Regions from separate parts of the Homo sapiens genome. Here regions 1 and 2 are each linked to region 3. The links are contacts of gene promoters, found by promoter capture Hi-C in blood cells and fetal thymus (Javierre and others, 2016). All regions are on one chromosome and are shown on one strand. The core of a region is centred on a gene start or on the middle of the fragment in contact, and the rest is flanking DNA. Distances in the headings are between cores, read along the strand shown.

What was found. The method cuts DNA at HindIII sites, captures the fragments that hold promoters and counts their contacts. A CHiCAGO score of 5 or more calls a contact.
Region 1: a contact is called between a fragment that was not itself captured here and the fragment with the promoter of COL17A1 in region 3, in 1 of 17 cell types (naive CD8 T cells). The highest score is 5.1, in naive CD8 T cells.
Region 2: a fragment that was not itself captured here is called in contact with the fragment with the promoter of COL17A1 in region 3 in 3 of 17 cell types (total CD8 T cells, M1 macrophages and naive CD8 T cells); the score reaches 8.6 in total CD8 T cells.

The regions. Positions count from the first base shown.
Region 1 is chr10:103,820,209-103,825,083 of GRCh38, reverse strand. All of the region lies in intron 1 of SH3PXD2A (SH3 and PX domains 2A), which reads left to right. Among named protein-coding and RNA genes, the nearest start is that of SH3PXD2A, 33 kb to the left of the region's middle. The HindIII fragment of the contact is 2,320 bases long and covers 126-2,445 here.
Region 2 is chr10:103,788,893-103,794,017 of GRCh38, reverse strand. The region is part of intron 2 of SH3PXD2A (SH3 and PX domains 2A); the gene reads left to right. Among named protein-coding and RNA genes, the nearest start is that of SH3PXD2A-AS1, 45 kb to the right of the region's middle. RefSeq lists an enhancer at 3,231-4,231. The HindIII fragment of the contact is 190 bases long and covers 1,386-1,575 here.
Region 3 is chr10:104,082,776-104,087,650 of GRCh38, reverse strand. COL17A1 (collagen type XVII alpha 1 chain) reads left to right here and starts at 1,771. Exons shown (of 56, transcript NM_000494.4): 1 at 1,771-1,928. The HindIII fragment of the contact is 1,426 bases long and covers 1,603-3,028 here.

The sequences.
Region 1 (4,875 bases), core at 36-2,535, 260 kb after region 3:
GGGCACAATGGCTCAGCACTTTGGGAGGCCTAAGCCGGTGGATTACTTGAGCCCAGGAGTTCAAGACCAGCCAGGATAACTTGGCGAAACCCTATCTCTACAAAAATACAAAAATTAGCCAAGCTTGGTGGTGCACTTCTGTAACTCCAGCTACTCAGGGGGCTGAGGCACGAGAATTGCTTGAATCCGGGAGGTGGAGGTTGCAGTGAGCAGAAATCGTGCCACTGCACTCCAGCCAGGGTGATGGAGTGAGACTGTATCTCAAAAAATAGAGAGATGACATGGCAAGAGTTGCTTCCATTCTGCCCTCTCTGCCTGTCTACACCTGGTCTACACAGGTGAAGGTTGGATTCAGGTCCTGGTGTACATTTTATGAGAGCAGGGTAGGAGGGCAGCCTGGATGGTGGAGACACAGGACTGGTCACCAGAAGCCACAGGAAGTAGGGCTGGTTATCCTCAAGCCGAGGGGATGCCGGGAGAGGGGCTATGTGAAATGTCCTCTTTCAGGAGAGGATTTTGATATGTTCTCTGTGGCCCCAGAGGCAGAACTAGTGGGTATGGGCGGGCATTAGCAGGAAGTAGATTCAGATCAGGATAAGGAAAATGTTCTCAGAGGCTCGGTGGATGCTGTGTGGCTTCCCCTCCGGGTTGACCCAGCCTCTGTGCTGGAAGCTGGACTTGCCTGGGCAAGGGCTGAGTTCGGGACTGCTTCAGCATTCCTCCAAATAAACCTCCCCTGGCCACAGAAAAGCCCAGAGAACAGAGAATATTAGAAGCTAAGGGAGAGCTTGCAGTTATTTCCCAACTCTGCCCTTCCTCATGCCTTCCCATTTTAAAGACGAGGAAATCAAAGCTCCAAGCCACCGAAAGAAACAAACTCCATGCCTGCCCACCCTCCCCTTGGGGCCACCTGGAGGTTTCTGCAGAAGGAGGGTGCTTGGTCTGAGCCAGTCAGTGGATGAGGGGTTTCCCAGGGGAGTGCCAGGTCAGGCACATTCCTCAGAGCTTCAAAATAGCCCCGCAAGCCAATACATTTCCTCCCAGGGGTTGGGGAGTGGCCGTCAGCTGGCAAGGGACAATATGAGGGACACATCTCAGGGGACACTCTCGAGTGAGGCATTAGGGTGTGGGTGCTGAGATGTCTCTTTTCATTGTTCTGCAGGAGTGAGTGCGGCCTTGACACGCTGACTGGCCTGGCATGGCTGTCCCAGCTGAAGCCTGTCCCCTGCCCGCTGCCCTTCTTTCCCTCATCTCAGCCATGTCTGCAGGCACCTCCCTGCCTCCCACTCCCTAGGCTCACCAAGCTCCCTCAGCTTTCCAAAGTCTGTGAGTTGTAGTGTGAGGCCACGCCATGAGGCAGGGACAAAACACAGGGTTTGGAATCAGTCCCACCGGGACTGGAATCCAAGCTCTACTGTTAATACATCCCAGCTGTGTGACCTTGGGCAAGTCACTGATCCTTTTGGACCCTCAGCATCTTCTTCTGTTAGATGGGCTTGTACCCATCCCAAGGATTTGTATATGGGTTACATGGGCTTAATGATGTATGGCTGTCTCCAGTGCAGAGCCTAGCACATGGAACTTGCTAGGGTGGCCTCCCTCTGTGCCTCAGTTGCCATGAAATGGTGGAGCCCAGTGATGAGGCCAGCCAGAATAATGCTCCCAACCCTGTAAGGGCAGTGGTTAAAGCCAGTCTCAATCAAGGTGGGTGTTAAGGGTCAACTCTGGCCTGAATCAGGAATGCCACCTTCTTACACAAAGCCAGCATTGCCTTCAAGGTGACTTCTGCAAAAGAGACGGATTTTTCTGCACGCTGCTTTTCTCATGGCATCCGTGGCACATCCTCTCTCCCTGTCAGCAAACCTAGGCTACCTAGATTTTGAGACAGTTGCAAAGTATTTATTCTGAGGATTCCCAGGACAACTTGATGGATCCTGCCAAAAACATCTTTGAACATATAACTTGACACACTTTTGTGAATTTATTCCCCAAGATAAATTCCTAGCAGGGGAATTGGTGGGTCAGTTTGCATTTCTCATTTTGATATATGTTGGCAAATGGCCCTCCTGAAAGAATTCAGCTCCCTCCCACGAAGTCTGAGACCTATCTATTTCCTCATAACTTCAGCACCTATCTGACCAAACGTGATTGTTTCTGTCAGCCAGATAGAAAAGAAATAACATCTTGTCGTTCTGATTTGGCTTTTTTCAGTTACACATGAGATGATGGAGTGTCTTAGCATGTATGGGTTAGCCATATGTATTTCTTCTTTGGTAAATGCTTATTTATATTCTTGGTCCATTTAAAAATTTTTTTGGGTGGTTCAGCTTATTACTTTGGGTTTAGAGGATTGTTCCTTGGAGAGAGGGGGTATTCTCTAAGGGGGCTTGGTGGTGGTATTCAGATCAGTTTCCTTTGAGGCTGTGAGTTAGTTAGAAGTAAGCTTCTTCACCCTCCCTGGGAAGAGGCTGCCCTGAGCTTGCTCCAGGCTTCCTGGGGTCCTCGTTAACAGGCATGAAAGTGCTGCTCCCCCCCCACCATGCCCTCATGGCTGAGTGCTGCATCAGGGCAGAGCTTGTGTGAGGCTGAATGAGAAGTTTGGTGTTAGATTTAGGGAATGGGGGGCCATGGCAGGATGCCAGGGAAGAACCTGTGTATGTGTGCAGCTGTGTGAGAGCTCCAGAATTTCTGCAGGGAACTTGGACAGCTAGGGGTTACATCTGCATAGGAAGCACCCTGTCTTTGCTTAGAGTGTGTATTCCAAATAACAAAAAATAGCAAGTTTAATAAAGTTGCTTTTGTGCACAGTATGTATAACATCCAGAAAAGGTCAATGGCCTATTACTCAAGAGAAATAATTACACAAATAAGTCAAATGAGAAGGATGAAATAAGGCCAGGCGCAGTGGCTCATGCCTGTAATCTCGGCACTTCGGGAGGCCGAGGCAGGCAGATCACCTAAGGTTAGGAGTTTGAGACCTGGTGAAACCCTGTCTTTACCAAAAATACAAAAATTAGCTGGGGATGGTGGTGCATGCCTGTAATCCCAGCTACTCAGGAGGCTGAGGCTGGAGAATTACTTGAACCCAGGAGGCAGAGGTTGCAGTGAGCCAAGATCGTGCCACTGCACTCCAGCCTGGGTGACAGAGCAAGACTTTGTCTCAAAAAAAAAAAAGAAAAAGAAGAAGGATGAAGTAAGAATAAAATAATAACAACAGGGCCAGGTGGAGTGGCTTATGCCTGTAATCCTAGCTCTTTGGGAGGCCGAGGCAAGAGGATCACTTGACTCCAGGAATTTGAGACCAGCCTGGGCAACAGGATGAAACCCCATCTCTACAAAAAATACAAAAAATTAACCCAGCATGGTGATGCGCCCCTGTAGTCCCAGCTACTGGTGGTGGGGGGCAGGGGAGCTGAGGCAGGAGGATGGCTTGAGCCCAGGAGGTCGAGGCTGCAGTGAGCAGAGATCATGCTATTGCACTCCAGCCTGGGTGACAGAGTAAGACCCTGCCTCAAATAATAATAACAAGAACAACAGATCTCCCACTTGTGTCTGGAGCTGGCTGATGGAGATTGTCAAGGTGGGGATTAAGCCTCCCTTGGCACTGCCACTGGTGTTAGAATTCCCAGGAAATCTAGGAAATAAAAAGAATGAACGCCAGGTGTGGTGGCTCACGCCTGTAATCGCAGCACTTTGGAAGGCTGAGGCAGACGGATCACTTGAGGTCTGGAGTTCGAGACTAGCCTGGCTGACATGGTGAAACCCTGTCTCTACTAAAAATACGAAAATTAGCTGGGTATGTAAAATTAGCTACTTGGGAGGCTGAGGCAGGAGAATCGCTTGAACCCAGGAGGTGGAGGTTGCAGTAAGCCGAGACCGCACCACTGCACTCCAGCCTGGGTGACAGAGCAAGACTGTCTCAAAAAAAAAAAAAAAAAAAAGAATGAACGACCATACATTAAATGTTTTCTGTGGGCCAGGCACGTGCTAAGTGCTTTGGATGCATTATCCCATTTAATCCTCACTGAAACCATCAGAGGCATACCCTCTTATTACCCTCATTGTCTAGGCGAGGAAATGCAGGGTCAGAGAAACTCGTTGATTTGTCCAAGATCTTACACCAGTTAAGAGGCAAAGCTAGGATTGAATCCCTGAATTGGTTTTGGCTGTACACATTGGGCTTCCCTGTGTTTCTCCCCGGCCCTGACCCCTTGGTTAAAGCTGGGGGAGATGCCACTTAGAGGGTAGAAGACAAGGGAAGTTCTGGCCATGTGCGCCAGCCCCTAGCCACCCTCTGGAGCCCAGTTGGCATCTCAGAAGACATGGCTGGGAGGGGCGCCCAACCCCCCCGCCCCTTATCTGGGGGCTTTGGTGTGCAGCCTGGGAGGGCTGGAATCTATAGCTCACGCCTTTCCCTGCATGGGCCTGGGTGTGAGCAAGGGTGTGGGGAGGGGACAGGCTCACTGGGGGTGGGCTCTGGCCAAGCAAAACAGGCTGAGGTCAGAGGGAGGGGGCCGCCCTCCCCAGGGAATGCTTGGATGACGTGACTTTGAGGGGGCACTGGGGGAGGAGGGCTGGCTGTGTGTTTCTCCTCTCACCTCAACCTCAGCCTGATGAGGAACCGGGGAATTGGGGCGGGAAGCCCGACCAGATGCAGCCCCTGGCAGGCTGCCCTGGCCGCTGCGCAGGACTCTTCTCCAGCCAGCTTGGCAGGTCCCTTCTTCCCCTCCTGAGGGGACCTGGGAGCAAATGACGTCCTGGAGTTGGCTGTGGCAGAGAGGAGGGTCCCCTCTGGCCACACGGAAGGAAGGGGCAGGGAGAAGCAGCTTGGGGGCTCAAAAGAATCCCCTTTCCTCATTCCAGTTGCTCCACATT
Region 2 (5,125 bases), core at 231-2,730, 290 kb after region 3:
TTTAGAGTTAGAGGAGTTCTTATTCCAAGTGCCTCACTTTGCAGGTAACAAACTGTGTTAATTTTTCTATTCATTAAATTTATATAAGCTTTCATTTGGTTTAATATCCAAAGCAGGCCTCAGCTGAGATCAACCTGGGGTGATCCCAGTGTGTGCCAAGAACCAACCTGAAAGCAGAAAAGAGGAGGAAATGTCTCTTCCGCAGGCACTCTGCCTTTTAATCATTGAGGGAATTTGTTCGAGATTACTGACCCTAGACTAAAGCGATGAGGCCACAGCCTGGGGAGGTAACCTGCTAAGTTCTAAGAATGATCTTGTACCAAGGATTGCAGAGAGCTCCAGCACACCTGGTGTGGCAGTGCCAGCTCCAGAATGTGCTGAGCATGGGTCATTGTGAATGCTCACATGCCTTAGACAGAGGAGAACATCAGCCTTGACTGAGGTCATTCACTGGTCCCAGGCAGGCACAGACAGCCTCATGTTGTTTGCAATGGCAAAAATGGGAAACAGCCTAAAAGACCATCCATACAGAGTTGCTAAGTCAACTGTGATATTCTCACAGCACTTAGTACAGCAGTCAAAGCAAATGAGACTGATCCATGGGTGGATCTCCAAGAAACATTCTGAACAAACAATGCAAGTTTCAAAACAGTACTTATAGTATGATAATAATTATATAAAAAAAAACCCAAGAACAAGATTTATATTTTGCAGGTACATATCCAGCATATGAATGTAAATGTTTTTTAATCTAGAAGGCTGTACTCCAGATTGGTATCCGACTCATCTCTAGATGGGGGTTAGGGATATCAGTAGGAGGAAGGGCTTGATAAAGGGGGAACCTTATCTTAATGTTTTACTCTTTTAGAAAAGGAGAATGCATTCATATATTATTTGCAACATTAATATTGAATAGTTAAAGAGTCACCTATTGGGGGAGCTAGGGTTGGTGGGAAGTCAAAAATAAAATATGTCTTTCCTGGTCATTATGGTATAATGGGACAGAAAGCACAGGTGAAAAAAGTAAACATAAGAACATGTCTAACAAGGAGGACATGAAACTCATTATAAAAATCACATTACCTCATATTTCCTGGACCATCATTCTAGATCATTCCTGTGGAATGTAAACTGGTTAGATCCCATTACAACCAACCCCAGGGACCTGTCCAAATTATCTTGTCCAACTGGAATCTTGTATTCAGATATTACTCAAAATCTGCAAACTACATATTGAGGCAGGAAGCAGTTGGGTGGGGGTTCTTGTGTCATGACGAAACTGTACTCAGAGTTGTGTGTTGCTGGGGCACAGTGGCTAAGGGCATGTGCTCCAGGGCCAGGGCACTTGGGTTTCAAGACCAGCCCCAGCGCTTACTGTCTAAGCTTTGATGAGTGATTTAACCTCTCTGTGCTTGATTTCTCATCTGTATAATGGGTGTATAGTAATAACTGCCTCACTGGGTAACAGGAAAAATAAAATGACACAGTCCATATAAAGAAAGCCCTTAGGATAGGACTGGCACAGAGACGCCAGACAGGTAAGCTGAAATGTCACCAATTAGGCCCTCAGAAGCTTAAAACTCCAAAAAGCCAGAGAGCCCCACTCCATCTAGAGACAGAAGTTTCTTCCTGTGCCCCGTTAATGTAGACATCACTTTCACCAAATAGCTCGGCCTGCCTCCAGGGAAGAGAGGCAGAAGGCAGTGTTAAAGGTTTTCTAGATAAATGATTTTCACCTTCAAAGTTTAACTACAAACCTATTTCCCTTCCAACAATGCTGTTAGGAAAACATTGTTTTTTAAAAAGTAATTATTAGTTGACAGCTTTTCCTTGCTCCTGGAAAGAGGCATCTTTGATTCCTGAAGGAACACATAGGGGTTCCAGGGGAGCCTTGTGGGGCTTCCATCGGCTCTTGGGGATTCCCTGGCTGGCTCCGCTCCACCTGGGAGCTGGCTGGGCTCCAGCGCCCCTTTCAACTTGTGCCTGTGGCCTGAGTATGAACTCCAGCTTCCTCCTGCCTCTCCTGAGTTCCCCTTTGGCAGATCCTGTTAGCAGGTGAGGGAGTTGTGGAATATTGGGAGAGGAAGACCAGGGTGAACTGGCACCTCTGGGCAGGCTCAGGATGGGAAAGCCAGTTACCATTGAGTTTGAATCCTGGGGTTACCTGGGTCCGGCTGGAGGGTGTTGGGAAAAGTTTGGGTTGATCTTTTTTCCCCTTTAAGCAGATGGAGTTTGCAACTTCTCGTGCAGTTTCCCAACCTTGTGGGTTTAGGAAGACCCCTGTGCTTGTGGGGGCCTCTCAGGTCCAGAGCAACTCGGGACCTGGTTCCAAGCAGATGGAGAGAGGTACGGAAGGAAGGTGGTGGCAGCGGGGATAGAGCATCTAGGAGAGGTCTCTGCACATCTATGCATAAAGGGAAATAAGACCCAGAGGGCTGAGCTCAGGCCCTGAGAATCACCGCCTCGGGGCCTGCCCTCAGGAGAACTCTCCACCCAGCCAGAGCCTGTGGACATCAAGAGAGCTGGGGAACTTGTGTGACACTGAAGCCGCTGGGAGTTGTCAGATATGCACCGTGCTGTGGGTCTGTGTGGGAAATCACACCTTTCCTATACAGTTGAGGACTCGCTCTGTGAGCCTCATTTTGGATGGTTGTGTGCATTTGATCCAGGCCCAGGGTATTCACGGTGTTCACAGGGTGTTTGGCCAAATCCTATTCCTAATGGACTCAAGGCCCTGTCAGATCAGACCCTCATTTGTGCAGTAGAAAATCAAAAGCCATCTCCGCCCTTTGCTGCACCCCCAGCCTCTCCATGGGGTCAATGTGGGATTTTCATACAGCGGGGGAAGCTCTTTTGTAAACTGGGGAAAATTGTAAGAAGCTGGAATGTCCTCTGGGTGTCAGTCCTTGGCACTGTTCATTGGCTCTAAATTTCTGGGTGACGTCTTGTGAGTGTGAGTGCTAGGAGCCTTGGGGGCATCACTGCTCCCCCAGTGACTGTCCAGCAGGGCTGAGAATGTCCCTTTCAGGGAGAGAAATCAGCTGTGTGCAAATAGCACAATATGGGAGGTACATGTTTGTCAACTGATGTTAACGATGTCCGCTGGGAAATCAGTGGTGGAATTATAAGTTTTCCAACCAGGAAGCCCTTAGAGATATCTAGCAGGATGACAAGTATCTGGCACTCATGTTGCTATCTCCCACTCATGCCTACAGCAGACATCACTAATTGATCATGGCATTCTCCTGTCCTGTACCCATGGCAGGCATTGTTAATTGATTACGAGCCCAGACATGGTCTCAGAGTCTTTCTAAAAAACAAAACCGAGTATCTTTAGGAAGTCACTACCTATCAGTTGGCAATGGCACCTTGAGATGAAACTAACTGGCCGCCCTCTGATCTTGCCCATTTCCCTTATTTGACAGACAAGGAAATGAGGTCCCAAGCAGGGAGTGATTTGTCCAAGATCACAGCAAGTGACAGCAGGACTAGAACTCTGGTACTCTCGCTTCTAGCTCACTCCAATCTGAGTTCCTAGCCTTCCACTCAGAAGTCCTCTTTCTGGGCCGGGCGCGGTGGCTCACACCTGTAATCCCAGCATTTTGGGAGGCCGAGGCGGGTGGATCACGAGGTCAGGAGATCGAGACCATCCTGGCTAACACGTGAAACCCCGTCTCTACTAAAAATACAAAAAAATTAGCCAGGGGTGATGGCGGGCGCCTGTATTCCCAGCTACCCGGGAGGCTGAGGCAGGAGAATGGCTTGAACCCGGGAGGCGGAGCTTGCAGTGAGCCGAGATCGCACCACTGCTCTCCAGCCTGGGCGACACAGCGAGACTCCATCTCAAAAAAAAAAAAAGAAAGTCCTCTTTCTGTTTTTGGCTGATGAGGGCAGGAAGCTTCTGTTGCCTCACTGAGAGTGTGCCTGGAGGGAGGGGTGGGGAACCATTCACTCTGCCTAGAGAGAAGCTGCCGTTGCAAAGAGCTGAAGACTTCTCTCTAGATCCCAGAAAGGTCGCTGGTGGCTCCCTCCCAGGCTCAGCTGCTTCCTGGAGCTCAGCCCACATCTCCTGCACACCGTCACCTGCCTCTCTCATTGTTGAATAATAAACCCCAGCTTTGCCAGGGGCAGTGTCAGAGTCAGCTCACACCACCTTCATGACTGTTCAGAGCTGCACACCTTGTTTTCCTGGTGTGCAGTGTCATGTCAGGGTGTGTTTGGGTGTCACGTCAGGGAGGCGTTGGAATGCAGTTGCAGCCTCTGCCACCTCCTTCCTCCTCTGCTCCTAGGCCCAAAGGTCCAACTTAGAAAATTCAGCTCTGCCCCTACTGGGCCTTCATCTTACCCCTCTTTGGATAACCAACAGGAAAGTTGTCTGGAAAGTGTGTTGGGTGACAGTGCCCCCCTCCAAACTGGAGAATGAAGGGAAGGGGGATCTTTGGTGGTGGCCAGGTGAGTGTTGTGTGTGTGTGTGTGTGTGTGTGTGTACGTATACACACCCTGTGAAGCTTCAGGTGTGACCAGGTCACTCTCTTCCTGCTGGAGGGAATTTCAAGTGCCTCCTGGCACCTCTGGAGGAGCACTAGCTACGTGCCTGACTCCATGCATGGTGCTGGGGACCCTAAGGGGAAAATCCAGAGTCATCCTGGGTGAAAGAGCCCTCAGCTGGCAGAGCATGAGGGTGGAATGCACAGAACGGGTGTTGCCGCACTAAGTGGGCAGCCCAGGATGTAGACCACCTGCATCATGCCTGCATGCTGTGGGCATTCCCTTTGGCTTGTGGGGGCAGCTTCGATCTGGGGCCTGAAGGTCTTGACATCCTGGTCCTTCTACCCCCCCCATCCTCCCCCACTGACGATGGCAGCAGCTGGTTTTGTTTTTGACTCTTTTGGAATGAGGCATGTAGGGCAGTCTGGTAAGCTATGGGAGCCTGAGCTGTGGGCTTTTCTGAGGGAAGATAGAGTTATTCGTCCCTCTGGGAGGCAATCTGCCACCAGTGTGGTGACCGGGAGATGTGAGCTGCATTGATTCCCTCATCAGCAGCCCCCGCCCCAGGCTGGACCTCAGCTTCCTGATGATTTCAGTTGCTGCCATCCCTGTGTCTCAGGGACACTAGTTTATTTTA
Region 3 (4,875 bases), core at 522-3,021:
CGGCCATCTGCAAGCCAAGGAGAGGGGGGTCTCAGGAGAAATCAAACCTCCTGACACATTGATCTTGAACTTCTGGCCCACAGAACTGTGAAAAAATAAATTTGTGTTGTTTAAGCCACCCAGTCCGTCGTATTTTGTTATGGGAACCCTCACCGACTAATACATTATGTAAGGCCTGTCTTCCTCCATTAGACTGTGAACTCCATAAGCAGAGGGACTATGTTCATATTTCACCACCAAACTCTTAGCACATAGTTTAATGTCTGGCTCCAAGCAGGAGCCAATATATTTTTGTTTAATTCTTGAATTCATGAATAAAGAAATAAATGATGCAGGGGCATGTCTATTTTATGCTGAAAGCTCTGTGTGTTCTGGGTTCTTCAGTGTTCTTCTACTATGAAACTGACGGAAGACATATTGAGTATTTATTTGGGGAAGGCAAGAACATCCTACAAAGCAAGTGTCAAATTCTGCATAATTGAAAGGGTTCTGAAATGCACGACTCCAGTGTGGAATATGGGCAGCTTAGGAGCAAGAGCCCCACAGCTGTTGTTGTGGTCTGCTACCCTTCCATGGGATGCAGTGCCCACAATAGCAAGGTGCAGTTGCACATCGGTGCTATGCTGTAAGGGCCCCACTGCTCCCCTCCAGTATCTTAGGATAATGCCTCAGAACTGGGAATCCCAGTGTGATGCTGGGTCCCAGGAATGTGCTATGGCCTCAAAGGACTGCCTGAGTGAGTTCCAGGTTCAGACTTCCCATTTTACCAACACCAAGTGTCTCAAGCTAGTCTTTAGGCCCCCTGGGAAGCCAGATGCTATCCAGGTATTCATAAGAATTATCCTGATTGATGCAAGTTGACCCTCTAGGGAAATCTAAAGGTCCCCAGGATGTACTTGGAGTTGCAGGACATCTGGGAGCCCACACATGTCTTTAGGTGTATGGAGACTATGCGGTCACCTGATTTGAAGGACAAGAAGGTCCTTATCCCTTCCCAACAGCACCTCTCTCCATTATTAGGTGGCTAAATGCCTAAAATTCCATCACTAACATGTCACTCTTTTAGGTCAGCATCACTATATCTGGTTGCCTCTTTTGTAAAACGAACCCCTACCCCACCAATTGCTCAGTACATTCAGTCATTAGCATATTATGAATTAGTTCACCAACTATTTTCTCCAGATGGGCTTGACCTGGCTTGAGTCACAAGAGGGGAAAGAGGACAAAGACATCTATAGGGGAAACAAGACAAAGGACACAGGACACAGGAACAGAGGACGAAGACATCTATAGGGGAAACAGATCTTGAATATAAATCCTGCCAACTTCAGTTTTTCTAGGGCTCAGGCAGTATGACCACAGGCCATCCATGTGCCTAGACCATGCTCATCCATGAGCCCATCCACGTGCCTAGACTCATGAATCATGCAGTGGGATTCCAGTACCCATGGCACTGAGGAAGGGTACTGCCACAAAGTTGTGGCAGTTCTCCAGCTGTAGAAGGTAGGCAATAAAAAAGCATTTCCTTTATGCTGGTCCTTTGTTTCCTTTTCCCCATGGGCCTTATAAATAGTTAATCTACCTAAGCTGGAAGGAGAAGCTTTCTGCCTCCAGTAAAGTTTGATTCCTGGAGGCAGATTTTTTTTTTAAATCCAGCAAGTGTCAGATAATTGGAAGGGTGGAGTAACGCTGTAAACCATGACACACCTTTGTCAGGACATGTTTGGAAGCAAAGAGTTGAAAGAAACAAGGTGGAGAGAAAGAAAAGTGAACATTTTTGAAAGATCACTCAGCTTTAACACACCTTGGCTGGGTCTGGATAAAAAAAAAGTGAGCACTGCAAATTTCTAGAAGAAAACATCAGGAGAAGAAAGAGAGAGGGGGATTTATTCAAAGTTGTTTCCAATTCCTTCAAAACCTCAAACCAGGTAAGTAAACAGGAAGACTGACCTTTCTCCTTTTCTCTGAGACTTTGATTTAAGGTTTGCCATTTAGAAATTAAATGTTTATTGGAGAAAAGAAGATGAAGTTCTGTAGTTTCTAGCATTCTGGTTAAAGTGATCAATTGGTTATAAAAGATGACTTTGGTGTATGCATTCTGCTTAGGGTAGGTCTTTCAAAGGAAATAAGTGGGGAAAAGGAGAAGGCTGAAGGCTGGTTAAAATATAGCGGGCTTTAGAGGCAAGACCTTTCTGCATTGTTTTCAGCATTGTAAAATGACTTGTGTTGTTTTATTTAGAATATGATACGGGCTTATAATTCCTTCTCTCCCAATCTCAGTTTCCTCTCTCGCTATCTTGCTCTCCTCTTCCCTCTGTCTCTCTCTCCACTGGACGAAGAGAACAACTCAGGGGTGAAGTTAAAGTATAGGTAAGGGGGCCTTCTAGAAACAGTCCCTGTGCTGACTGGGCCTCTCTGATTAAGCCATACATGGTAAACATTGCTGTTTACCATGCTGTAAAATTACCTCTAATCTAAAGAAAAGTAGGATCTTTGAAATGATCTGATTAATTCAGAAATTTTGCAGGATCAAACTTAGAGGAATAAAAAAAGGAAGAAAATTGTTTCCCGTATATATACTCTTACGAGTCAACTTGGGTTTCCTCCTGCCAAAAAAATTCACTTTGAGATGAGAATTACCAGTTTAGATACCTAAGTGGATGACGTTAACTGGTAACTGACAAATTATCACTTTACTTTTTGAAGTGGAGGCAAAACCTCTGGCACATTCCTTCTTTTGAGAAGTAGTTAATCAGTAGTCTAATAGTGGACTTGTAAAACGTAGCAAGATTTTTAAAAGGTATTTATTTGAAAAGCAGAATAGTTTCTTCTTACCTCCATATGTTCTCTCTTAGAGCTAAGGCACAGATCTGTCAGAACTAACCTAAGACAGATGTCTATCCCCACACAGACTCACTCCAGAGATTCAGAGGTGTCCTGCTTTACTCTTAGGCCCTGCAAAACACCCACATGAGTCTGATCAGAGTTTACACAGGAACAATTAAAGTGAACAGCTCTGCTTCAAGCTTGCATAGAAACTTACCAGCCTGGGTAACATGGCAAAACCCTGACTCTACAAAAAATACAAAATTAGCCAAGCATAGTGGTGTGCGTAGTGGTGCACACTCATATTATACTAACCCCATCTCTACTAAAAATACAAAAATACAAAAATTAGCTGGGTGTGGCGGTGCATGCCTGTAACCCCAGCTACTTGTGAGGCTGAGGCAGGAGAATTGCTTGAACCCAGGAGGCAGAGGTTGCAGTGGGCCAAGGTTGTGCCACTGCACTCCCACCTGGGCAACACAGCAAGACTCCGTCTCAAAAAAAAAAAAAAATAGGAAAAAAACTCCTTAGATTGGTGAAACTGACCTGACCTAAGAACTAACCACCTTCTCAGATTATGAAAAACAAAAAGAAGTCTGTGTTTACATTGTTTGTTTCATTTGCCATTATTAACAGTGGCAGGACACAACTGTAAACAAACCAGCATAATCACAAAGCTGGTGCCCTATCCCACCTGCTCCCAGTCATGAAAATCCAGGATACCAAATGTAGCAAGCAGCAAACCCATCTCTGGGGTGTTACAGAGACAAAGCCTCCAAGATATTCAATTCCAGGGCATTGGCTTTCCTGGCATCAAACTGCTGGGCCCTTCTGTGTTATCAGGTCAATAGCCAGTGGATGGTTTTCTAATACTTTGGCAATTTTGTTGTTGTTTTGTTTTAAAATTTAAAGTGTATAGAGAATGGAGTAATAGAAGCTATAAAAATACTTGCAATTCATTAGCAGAGTATAGGAACATTTGTTCCTAAAACAAAAAATAAAGAGAAAAATACTTAGCTTCTTCATTCTCTTTGTTGTATCAAGAACAAAGTGTTTCATGTGTCATTAGAATAAGATAATGTGATGGTTTAAACCCAAATGTGATGGTAAACAGTTAACGTGATGGTTCACTGTCACTAACAGTGGTTTGTCCTTGTGTGTGTGTGTATGTTAGACAGCATCGGCTGAATAGTTTTAGGTAGACGTGACATCATTTAAATAAAGGGGAAAGGAAAAAACTCATAAAAGTAGAAAAATGATTTAAAATTGTGTCTTCTTGCCTAGAAAAGTGACATGGGATCATTTTTACACCTTCACAAAAACATTAGCTATAAAATAGCCACAAAGCAACCCTTTAGAACTATGGATGGAAATTAGTATAATTTTGGAATTGAGAGCTTGAATGATCTGCTCATCCTTAGTTCTAGTGAAGTGGCCCAAATATCTGAGAAGTTAAAAATTATGTTATTTGACAGTGCTTCCATTAAGTAGGACTTTTGGAAGACGAACACACTGGTGAATCCTGCTAGGATAGGCAGGCTCAGGCATGTACCTGGGCAGGAAACGTTCCTTTTCCTAACGTTACACTTTTAAAAACTATCAGCACTTAAAATGTGTAAAAAAGAAGTCCTGGGAATATACTGTAGGTCCCATGGGAAGATCCTAGTCCAGGCTTGTGCCCCACGCCATCACTCTCCATTTAATATAACTCACTTATAGAAAGTTTCCTCTTATATTTCGTTTAAAGGAATCAGTCTCCCAACACGTACCTGGCACCTCAGATTGGCTGTGGAACACACAGACATTGGGGTGGCTTCAGATTGAGAGAGAGGCATCTACCTGTACCTGCCTAGAGCAGGTTATATCCACAAAGTACCTTCCAATGAGGAGCTCCCAGGCCCTGAAGGAGGGCATCTGATTTCTAAGTAGGTCATCACTTCGTGCCCTCTGGAAGTTGGGGAATCCTTAGCATTTTACTGCAGAAGTCAAGGCTTTGTCATTGGGATTCAGGGAAAAGATGGAGGGCCTAGAAATGCCTGCTATGTTTTG